Linked DNA regions of Homo sapiens: region 1 is linked to region 2. The links are contacts of gene promoters, found by promoter capture Hi-C in human tissues and cell types (Jung and others, 2019). All regions are on one chromosome and are shown on one strand. The core of a region is centred on a gene start or on the middle of the fragment in contact, and the rest is flanking DNA. Distances in the headings are between cores, read along the strand shown.

The links. Contacts are between HindIII fragments. The study calls those that stand out against the background at their distance.
Region 1: a fragment that was not itself captured here is called in contact with the fragment with the promoter of CTNNBL1 in region 2 in 1 of the 25 tissues and cell types used here (IMR-90 fibroblasts).

What each region holds. Positions count from the first base shown.
Region 1 is chr20:37,979,346-37,984,253 of GRCh38, forward strand. TTI1 (TELO2 interacting protein 1) reads right to left here. Exons shown (of 8, transcript NM_001303457.2): 8 at 3,676-4,294. The coding sequence ends at 4,111. Among named protein-coding and RNA genes, the nearest start is that of TTI1, 52 kb to the right of the region's middle. The HindIII fragment of the contact is 8,966 bases long and covers 1-4,908 here.
Region 2 is chr20:37,691,828-37,696,845 of GRCh38, forward strand. CTNNBL1 (catenin beta like 1) reads left to right here and starts at 2,203. Exons shown (of 16, transcript NM_030877.5): 1 at 2,203-2,325. The coding sequence starts at 2,296. RefSeq lists an enhancer at 2,481-2,540. The HindIII fragment of the contact is 21,229 bases long and covers 1-5,018 here.

The sequences.
Region 1 (4,908 bases), core at 60-2,559, 290 kb after region 2:
TGGGGAAAGCAGCATCAGAAGACAGACAGGCTGGGGGAGCTGTGCCTGCGGGGCCTCTTCGTTCTGTGTGCCAAGGTATTTTTTTTTTTGCTCAAGCCAATTTTGAATTGGGTCTCCTGTCACTCCCAACCGAGTTATGATGTGTACAGATACTGGCAGGTATGCCCACAGCTCTTTGGGCATGTGATTTTTCCTGTCTGGAATGCCCATTATTCTGTCTGCTGAAATCTACTTGTCCACTAGGACGTCACCTCCTCCTAGAAGCCTTCTTTGATTCTCTCACCCTACCGTGGTTCTATTTTAGTTTCTGGGTGGTACATGCTGAGACCTAACCATCTACTTCCTCGGCTGTAACCGTCAAGAGGAGTGTGTATTGCAGCCATAACAAAGCCATGGGCAGCGGGGGAAAGATGTTGCTGGAGCCCCAGGCACAGTGTCAGATGCTTTAGAAACACTACCGCATCCATCCCCTCTGATGCAGCTGCCTGAAGAGGCAGTGGCAACAGCTCTAATTCAGAGATGGGAAAATGCAGCTCGGAAGTAAAATGACTTGCCCAAGGTCACACGGTTACAGAGAGGCGGAGTCAGAAATGAAGCCCAGCGCTGAGGAACTCCAAATCATCCATGCTCCTTCCACAACACAGTGCCTTCTGAAGACCACAGCCACCCCCCTCCAGCCATCTCCAAGGATCCCCTGGGTCCAGGTCTATACTTTCCTGCATCCTCCAGGAGCCTTCTACAGCCTGCAGATCACGGCTCAAACATCTCAAGCTGAAATTCAAGGCCTTGCAGTATCTACTTATTCATTCTATACCAACCCCTAACCCCAGCCCAAACAATACTTGAAGTGCTGGTGCGCCCTGAGTGAAATAAGAAACCCCTATTACTCCACAAGTTTTAACAGGGGGAATGGAGTATTTTGCAAAGCTTATGTTAACAAGGACTAGACTGAGTCAGCTGGACAGGTTCAAAATTAAAGTTGCCTGAATATAATCATAACTGGAGATGCACTCTAATGAGATTTTTTTTTTTTTTAAATCAAGTGCAACAATCTGCCTGCAAGAATCTGAAAGCAACTCAAGATAGCTTAACTCTTTGAGGAAGAAGTGGGTTTTCGGAGAGCCATGGTGTATCCTCTTATGCTGATTATCTCCTGGAGAGCTTTCGCAGAGTCCAAGTTTTTATCAGGATGCGTGTGCACATCTTCCTGGCCTCTCAGGACAGCATCGCGGCTTGCCACACCCAGATGCTCTGCGAAGGCAGGCTACTTTAATCTCACCGGGAGAGCTAAGTAATGCTCAGCAAGTCATGCCACCTCCCTGACCTGTTTTCTCATTTGTCAGAATCTGGAGACTGAATTAGCCTATCACTTTGGGTCCCCAGTGGAATTAGGAACAATGCTGTGAATGCTTTTACCATCTCCGTAATTAGAGGCATTTCCCTCCCTTTTTCCAAAGGAAATCATCCCAGAATTTTAAAGCTCAAAGAGAGTTAAGTGATTATCTTGCTCTTTGAGGGGGTTCTTAACTTGGGGTCCTTGCGGGGTCACAGGTGAAGCCTCTGGAATTGTACATGGAATCTTGTGAGGTCAGTGAAGCATCCTCAGCAGATGAGATAGTGCCCACTGCAGTCTTGGAGGATGCAGTGCCCTCCTGGGGGTAACAAGGGAGGAGCGGGAGCAAGTTTCTGGGGAGTGGGTCCCCACAATCCCAACAGATGAAGAGCTCCCCCTCTGGTCCAATCCCTCCACTTTACAGGCTGCAGAACTGAAAAAAGCCCCAAGAGAAGGATTCCCTGAGGGCTCAGGAGCCAGACAGAGCCAGGCTGCCGCCACCGAGACTGGAGCTGGACATAACTCGGCCCTTGCAGGGCGGAGTGGAGAAGGAATTGAGTGGGGCCTCTCCAGAGCTGGCTGGGGACCCTCACACCAATATGTCCCCATGCCAGGCACCCTCTGGGCTTTTTAAGAGTTTGGGGATTATCTATGTCACCGGAATTGTGATCTAGCCGGTGCCTCACCATGCACCTGTGAGGAAGCATTCATCATCCCTGGGATCCTTCAGCATACATGGGAGCCCTGGGGTGGGATGTGCACCTCAATTTACATAATCTGTGTGTTTTAAATTTCTCAGCTAGAAAAAAATCGAGTATTTATCTTGCCTTTTCTTTTCTTTTTTTTTTTCTTTTTGAGACGAAGTATTGCTCTGTCGTCCAGGCTGGAGTGCAATGGCGCGATCTCTGCTCACTGCAACCTCCGCCTTCCCTGGTTCATGCCATTCTCCTCCTCAGCCTCCCGAGTAGCCGGGATTACAGGCAGGTGCCATCTTGCCTTTTCCATACAAACTGTACCGGTAGGTTACCAGATGGTTGATGAAGGGAAGGTTCCCCTTACACAAGGACTCTGGTTAACAGCAAGCCAGCATGGCAGAATTAGAACAGCATTACTCTGCAATCCCTAATGAGTGTGTGGATTCCAGTGAGATCACCATGGTTGCTAATAACACAGTAAGATCAGACTTACATACCTCCTGATGGAAGTACGTAACACCACCTATGGAGGAGAAGTGCCAAAAACAAAGCTAAGAGACTCAATCCTGATCACGACTCTTACTCTGCCTCCCAATGGCCAGGAAACACAGGTGAGAGGAGGGGCCCAAGAAATGACCTCCATAGGGATGCAATCAATAAATCCAGACGGTGGGAAATGCTGTAGGAAAAATGACCGTGTTTCTCCACCAAAAAACTTACAAGGAAAATGAGAGAGAGGTGGAGGGGGAAATCTACACATTAAAAGAGATTTATTTTTTATTTTAGAGATGGAGTTTCGCTCTTGTTGTCCAGGTTGGAGTGCAATGGCGCAATCCTGGCTCACCACAACCTCCATCTCCTGGGTTCAAGTGATTCTCCTGCCTCAGCCTCCTGAGTAGCTGGGATTACAGGCATACACCACCACGCCCAGCTAATTTTGTATTTTTAGTAGAGACGGGGTTTTTCCATGTTGGTCAGGCTGGTCTCGAACTCCTGACCTCAGGTAATCCGCCCACCTCGGCCTCCCAAAGTGCTGGGATTACAGGCATGAGCCACTGCACCCGGCCTAAAAGAGATTTATTAGGGAATATACTGATACCAGCAATGTATATCACTTATTTGGATCCTGATCCAAACACACTGGGGAAATTTAGACACTGAAAATATCTGACAATATTAAAGGATCATTGTTAATTTGGTTAGGTGTGATAATGGTATTGTGGTTGTACGTTTAAAAAAAGTTTCAATGTAACATCTGGGATTTGCTTCAAAAAAATCCGGGGTGTGGAGAGAGAGGTACATGGGTGGGGCACAGAGGAAGCAAGCCTGGCCACATGCTGACTGCCAGGGAAGCCAGGTTCATGGGGACATGGGAATTTACACTATTACCCATAGTAAAATGTTAAAAAAAATTAACCTCCTGCTTGAAAAGTAACCAAAACATTGTTACGAGTGGTTGCCTTTGGAGAGAGAAACCTGACGGCTGGGAAATGGGGAGGGGGAGATTTACTCTTCATTGTTTTCTGTTTTGTACTGCTTGGATTTGGATTTTATACCATGGTTCTATATTAACCATTCAAGAATATAAACTCATTTTAAAAAAACCACCCAGTTTAAATAAAAAACTTCAAAGTGAGCTTTTGATCATACTTTTCATCCAAGAAGTGTCTTTATTTCCGTTTGTTTCCCAAAGATCAGGTTAGGTAAAACAAATTAGTTCCATCTCATTATTTGAAGACAGGGAGGTGTATGCAGATGGAGGGGAACTGACCTCTTGTGTGTGTGTGTGTGTGGCCTGTGAGGGAGCTGGGGCTATAGAGATGGTAGGCTAAGGGGTTAAACCCTTAGAGCCACCAGACAATGTCACTTGACAACACAAGGTATGAAACATAAATAATAGTCAGCTACTTTCCTTCAATCCATTTCTAAGCAGTTGTGTGATCGATCAATTTATAAATCGATTGGCTAACTAATTCACCTTCTCTGCTGCCGCTGCCACCGCCTATGGCCGGGGTGGGGTCAGCCCAGCTTCTGGCTGGCAGTAGGGGAGGGATCGGTGGCCTCTGTGGTGGGGGAGCAGGGTCACTGCAGCTCCTTGAGCAGCTGGAGCACGTTGGTCGTGTAGGGGTTCTGCTGCCCGCTGGCCCCGTGCAGCTGCACAGGGTGGAGGCTGGGGTGGGGAGGTGTGAACTGCACGGGGCAGTAAAGCTCGTTCAGGAGGAACCAGGTGGAGTCTGGGTCCACCTTCATCAAGTGGAGGAAGACGCTGTGGAGAGATGGAAAGGAGTGAGTAGAGGGTACAGAGAGGGAAGGCGGGGAATGCTACAGCCCCAACCAGGAGGCTGTTTACCAGGCTATTTGAGAAGAAACTGATAACAATATCAAGTCACTTCAAATAGTAGAAAAAACCCACTTGAGTTCCTAAGACAGGACCAGTAGGATGGTCCCAAAGCCCAACCGAAATACAGGTAACAGTTTCATATCCATCGACATACAGAAACCAGTAATTAGTCTGAGCAGAACAATATTGACAGCAAACAAGCTCTTGGCAAAGAAAGAGGTTGAGTTCCAGAGTAGAAAGCAGGAGTTTTCACAAAGAAGAAAAACGACAGAGTGTACCCTTTCTTAAAGGCTTTGCTCAGCTCACAGGCCCAGCCCAGGGTTGAGGCAGGCCCAGGGCAGGGCTCCCTGTCCTGCTCGGGGGCCCTGAGCAAGCCTTAATATTATGGTCCTCCAGCACGCTGCTGAAGTCGGCAGTTGGACCCTTCCTGGCTGAGAGCCATGGATACTTGGTGGTGTGAACAGACACTCATGGCTCCCGTGTGAGGAGCCCGTTTCCCCACAGGGATCAGATCCACAGAATATGCCGCCTTTGGCAGG
Region 2 (5,018 bases), core at 953-3,452:
ACTCTCTCCTGTCTTCCCAAACAAGGCACAGTCTATATTCTATTTTTTTTTTTTTTTTTTGAGACGTAGTCTTGCTCTGTCGCCAGGCTGGAGTGCAGTGGTGCCATCTTGGCTCACTACAATCTCCACCTCCCTGGTTCAAGCGATTCCCCTGCCTCAGCCTCCCAAGTAGCTGGGACTACAGGCACGTGCCACCACACCTGGCTAATTTTTTGTATTTTAGTAGAGATGGGTTTTCACCATGTGGGCCAGGAAGATCTCAATCTCCTGACCTCGTGATCTGCCCTCCTCGGCCTCCCAAAGTGCTGGGATTACAGGCGTGAGCTACCACACCCGGCCGGGCACAGTCCATATTCTTATATAAGTAGGAGGGGGAAAGACACCCAAATAGACTGAATTCAATGCAGATTGCATAGGTGATCCTTTAAAAACATAAGCCCAGTCACAAAACTACCTTGCTTAAAACTTTCCTTATGCCGTTAGCATAAAATCCAATCTCTCTCTCTTTTTTTTTTTTTTTTTTTTGAGACAGAGTCTTGCTCTGTCACCCAGGCTGGAGTGCAGTGGTGGAATCTCAGCTCACTACAGCCTCTGCCTCCTGGGTTCAAGCGATTCTCCTGCTTCAGCCTCCCAAGTAGAGGCATGTGCCACCATGCCCAGCTAATTTTTGTAATTTTTAGTAGAGACGAGGTTTCACCATGGTGGTCAGGCTGGTCTCAAACTCCTGACTTCAAGTGATCTGCCCGCCTTGGCCTCCTAAAGTGCTGAGCTTACAGGCGTGAGCCACCACGCCCGGCCACGCCTAGCCAAAATCTAATCTCTTTACCATGGCACACAAGGCCCATTATGAAACCTCTCCCTCTACCAGGCACTGTACTAGGCTTGGGGGATACAGTGGTGAACATGACACACACATGTCCTGCTTGCATAGAGCTTGCAATCCAGTAAATGAGGCTGTCAAGAAACAAATAGTCAACCATTAAGCACAAAATTACAGAATGAGATATATACGTAGTGGAGCAGGTACTTGGAAAAAGAATAATGAGGAGAGAGGTTGATTACCTGGACCAGGGTGAGTTGAAGAAGCCCTTGTAAGAAAGTGACATTTGAGACCCGAAAGATGAGAGAATTGGATGAGGTATGGTGCTGATGGCCAGGCAGAAGGGGAGAGGATTTGTCATTCTGAGGAATAAGAATAATTTCTGTATAATTGGAGCCAGTGCAGATGGGATGGGGACCAAAATTATAAATATGAAGGGCATATAAATATAATATAATACATAAATATAATTATAAATATAAAGGACAGGGGCTTATGGAAGGAGGTTTAATTTCCTTTGAAGATGGAGCCTTAAGTCCCAGGTGCATTCTGATCTTGTTTAAGATCAGATGCACTCTGAATGATTCTCTTCCAATTATGGGCAACTTTCTCCTCCAGAAACCTTTTTATATCACCTGGGTAGCAAGGGGATCATCTAGTGACCGTTAGACTTCGCATAGATGAGCAGACACAAGCCTAGAGAGGGACATGTGATCACCAATAGTTTCTCAGCCAGTAATAGTTGTACAGCCTTGGAACAAGTCACTTTTTGAGCCAGCACTATCTGATAGAAATTAATGGGAACCACAAATGAGAGCCACATGTGTAATTTAAAACTTTCTACTAACCACATTTAAGAAGTAAAGAGAAACAGGTAAAATTCATTTTATAATATATGAATTTGACCCAGTATATCCAAAATATCATTTCAACCTGTAATCAATGTAAGTCTTAGAAATCTGGTGTGTATTTTATTTACACTTATGGCACATCTCACTTCGGAGTAGCCATATCTCAAGCGCTCGGTAGCCATATGTGGCTAGTGAGTAAAGTATTGGATGGTGCAGTTGGGAGCGTCAGTTTCCTTTTCTGTGAAATGAGGATAAATCACTGGAAGCTCGTGAGAGCGCACACGAAACACCCGGCACTCCGCCCTGGACACTAGGGACGCGCAATCAAGTTTGGTTTCTTCTGGTCCCTGCTCTCCCCTCCCGCCCCTCCTCTAAGTCTCCGCCCCCTTTCCCCGCCCCCTCAGGCTCCAGGCGGAAGCAACCCTGTTCCAAATGCAGCGCGCTTTACGGCGGCGCGTCCTTTTACCGCGGTGTGGCCGGCTCGCTTGTCGCTCGCACTTTTGCCCTATTGGCTCTGCGGCTCCGCTCGCCGCACTTTACGGCAGTGTGGCTGGAGCCGCGGCTGACGGGCCCGCGGTCTGGGCGTGAGTGCAGGGAAGTGGAGTATTTGCTGGGCCGGGTACCATGGACGTGGGCGAACTTCTGAGCTACCAGGTATGAGGGGCAGGGAGGGCCGAGCGACCGCGTTCTCACCTGGGCAGGGGTCGCAGGAGCCAGAGCCCTTTCATCTCACCTCCTCTCGCCTCACTCCCGGGCCCTCTAACTTCTCATGCCACCCGGGGTCTCAGCCCCTCGTTTTACTTTGCTCTCCGAAGCCCTCCTGGGCCCTTTCGATTCATCCCTTCTCAAGACCTGAGCCCTTCACCTCCTCTTCCTCACCCTGGGGCCTGGTTCCCTGAAACTCCTCTGAAACCCCAGACTATCCTTTTTTTCACAACCATGTCCTCTCAGCTCTCATGTCCCCCCAGTCATTGAGGTGATGGTGGTGGCGGCGGTGGGAGTGCACTGGTCTCACTTGGATTTGATCTCCAGCTTCTCCACTGACTGGCTATGTGGCTTTTGGACAAGTCATTCCCCCCCTCTTTGAACCAAGTTTTTGTATCTATATAGTGGAGACACTAATAACTGCCTTAGTAGGGTTGTTTGAGGACTGTACCAACTGATATGTATGAAAGCTGGTTTTAAAGTGTGGAAAGCTGTGCTTGTGTTTACTGCGATTTGCAGGAGATGTTGGGAATTCTAGCATGGAATGAGTTTCTAGGAATCTTGCTCAGGGTCCCCCTTGCCTAGGAAACTTGTGGGGAAACTGTATGGGACCTAGAGAGCAGAAAGGGCTTGTCCAAAGTCACTCAGAAACAAGGAGCTGGAATTTGAGCTCAGGCGTACTGACTTCCACCCCAAAGTTTTTCCCCCACTTTGATTCCATAGGAGGGTCATTGCGAGGAGCAGTAGAGCTGCACTGCCGAATGTCGTAGCCACTAGCCACATAGGCTGTTGATTGCTTGAAATGTGACTAGTCTGAATTGAGAAATACTGTAAGTATAAAGACACATTTGGGTTGGAGACTAGTATGGAAAAAGTGAAATTTTTATATTGATTACATGATCGTACTGATTATATCAATTACATTGGTTATTGGTCATATTGATTAAATGATCATATTTTGGATAATGGGTGAAATAAAATATACTTAATTAATTTTTAAAATTTTATTTTATTGTTATTTAGAGACAGGATCTTGCTCTGTCGCCCATGCTGGAGTGCAGTGGCACAATCATTGCTCACAGTAGCCTTAAACTCCTAGGTCTAAGGTATCCTCCCAAGTAGCTAGGACTGCAGGCAGGCATCACTATGCTTGGCTGATTTTTAAATTTTTTGTAGAGACAGGGTCTTGCTATGTTGCCCAAGATGGTCTCAAACTCCTAGCCTCAAGCAGTCTTCCCACTTGGCCTCCCAAAGTGCTGGGATTACAGGTATGAGCCACCACACACCACACTCAGCCAATAAAATATGTTTAAAACCAATTTTAACTGCCCCTCTTGACATTTTAATGTGTTTACTAGAAAATTTAAAACAACATATATAGTTCAGCTTATATTTTTGTTAGACAGCCCTGCAGTCAAGAATAGGTGATTAAGAGCCATGAGTCTGGACCCCTAGGTTGCTGGCAGTCTCTGTTTTGCTACTAACTGGCTGCTGTAACCTTGAACAAAATACTTAATTTCTCTCTGCCTTGGTTTCTTCATCTGTAAATGGGGGACAGTGACGGTAGCTGCCTCACAGGGCTGTTGTGAAGCTGTTGAGAAATGGAAAGTCCTTAGACAATGCTTGCCAAAGAGTAAACATTCAGTAAATATTAGCAGTTATTTTCATACCACTCCCTCAGCCAAAGTACAAGAAATTGACCCTGGACGCTTAAGACATCATGGGAAAGAACAGTTCAGCAATGGGGAGCTATATAGCCAAGAGATTTTTCTTTTAAAGACAGTTTAATTGATAGTGAAAGATGAAGGGAAATAGGCAAGTTATTAAATCAGTGATTGTATGCCGGCTTGGAATTTCTAGAATGGCTAGCCCATTAAAGCTAGAAGAGTTTCATTCATTTGCTCAACAAATATATATTGAACACCTACTGTGTGCAAGGCAGTCTATCCACTGGGTATACAACACTGAATAAAAGACAAGATTCTTGCTTTTGTGGAGCATCTGGTGGGAAGTTACAAGATAATAAGTAAACAATGCATTCAGTTTGTGGTAAGTGCTGGGAAGGGAATATAGCAGAGTATGCTATAAAATTGCACTGCTTTGTATAGTAGCCACTAGGCACATGTGATTATTGAATACTTAAAATGTGACTAGTTTCGAATTTAGATCTGCTACATGTGCAAAATACACACTGGATTTCAAAGATTTAGTATGAAAATAATGTACAATATCTTTTTTTTTTTTTTTTTTTTTTTTTGAGATGGAGTTTCACTCTTGTTGCCCAGGCTGGAGTGCAATGGTGAGATCTCAGCTGACTGCAACCTCTGCCTCTTGGGTTCAAGCGATTCTCCTGCCTCAGCCTCCTGAGTAGCTGGGATTACGGGCATGCGCCACCACGCCTGGCTAATTTTTGTATTTTTAGTAGAGATGGGGTTTCTCCATGTTGGTCAGGCTGGTCTTGACTCCCAACCTCAGGTGATCTGCCAGCCTTGGCCTCCCAAAGTGCTGTGATTACAGGCGTGAGCCACTGCCCCTGGCCACGTGAAAATAATGTACAGTACCTTAACTTTTATGCTGATTACATGTTGAATAAATGATAACACTTACGATATATTGGATTAAAGAAAATATATTATTAAAAT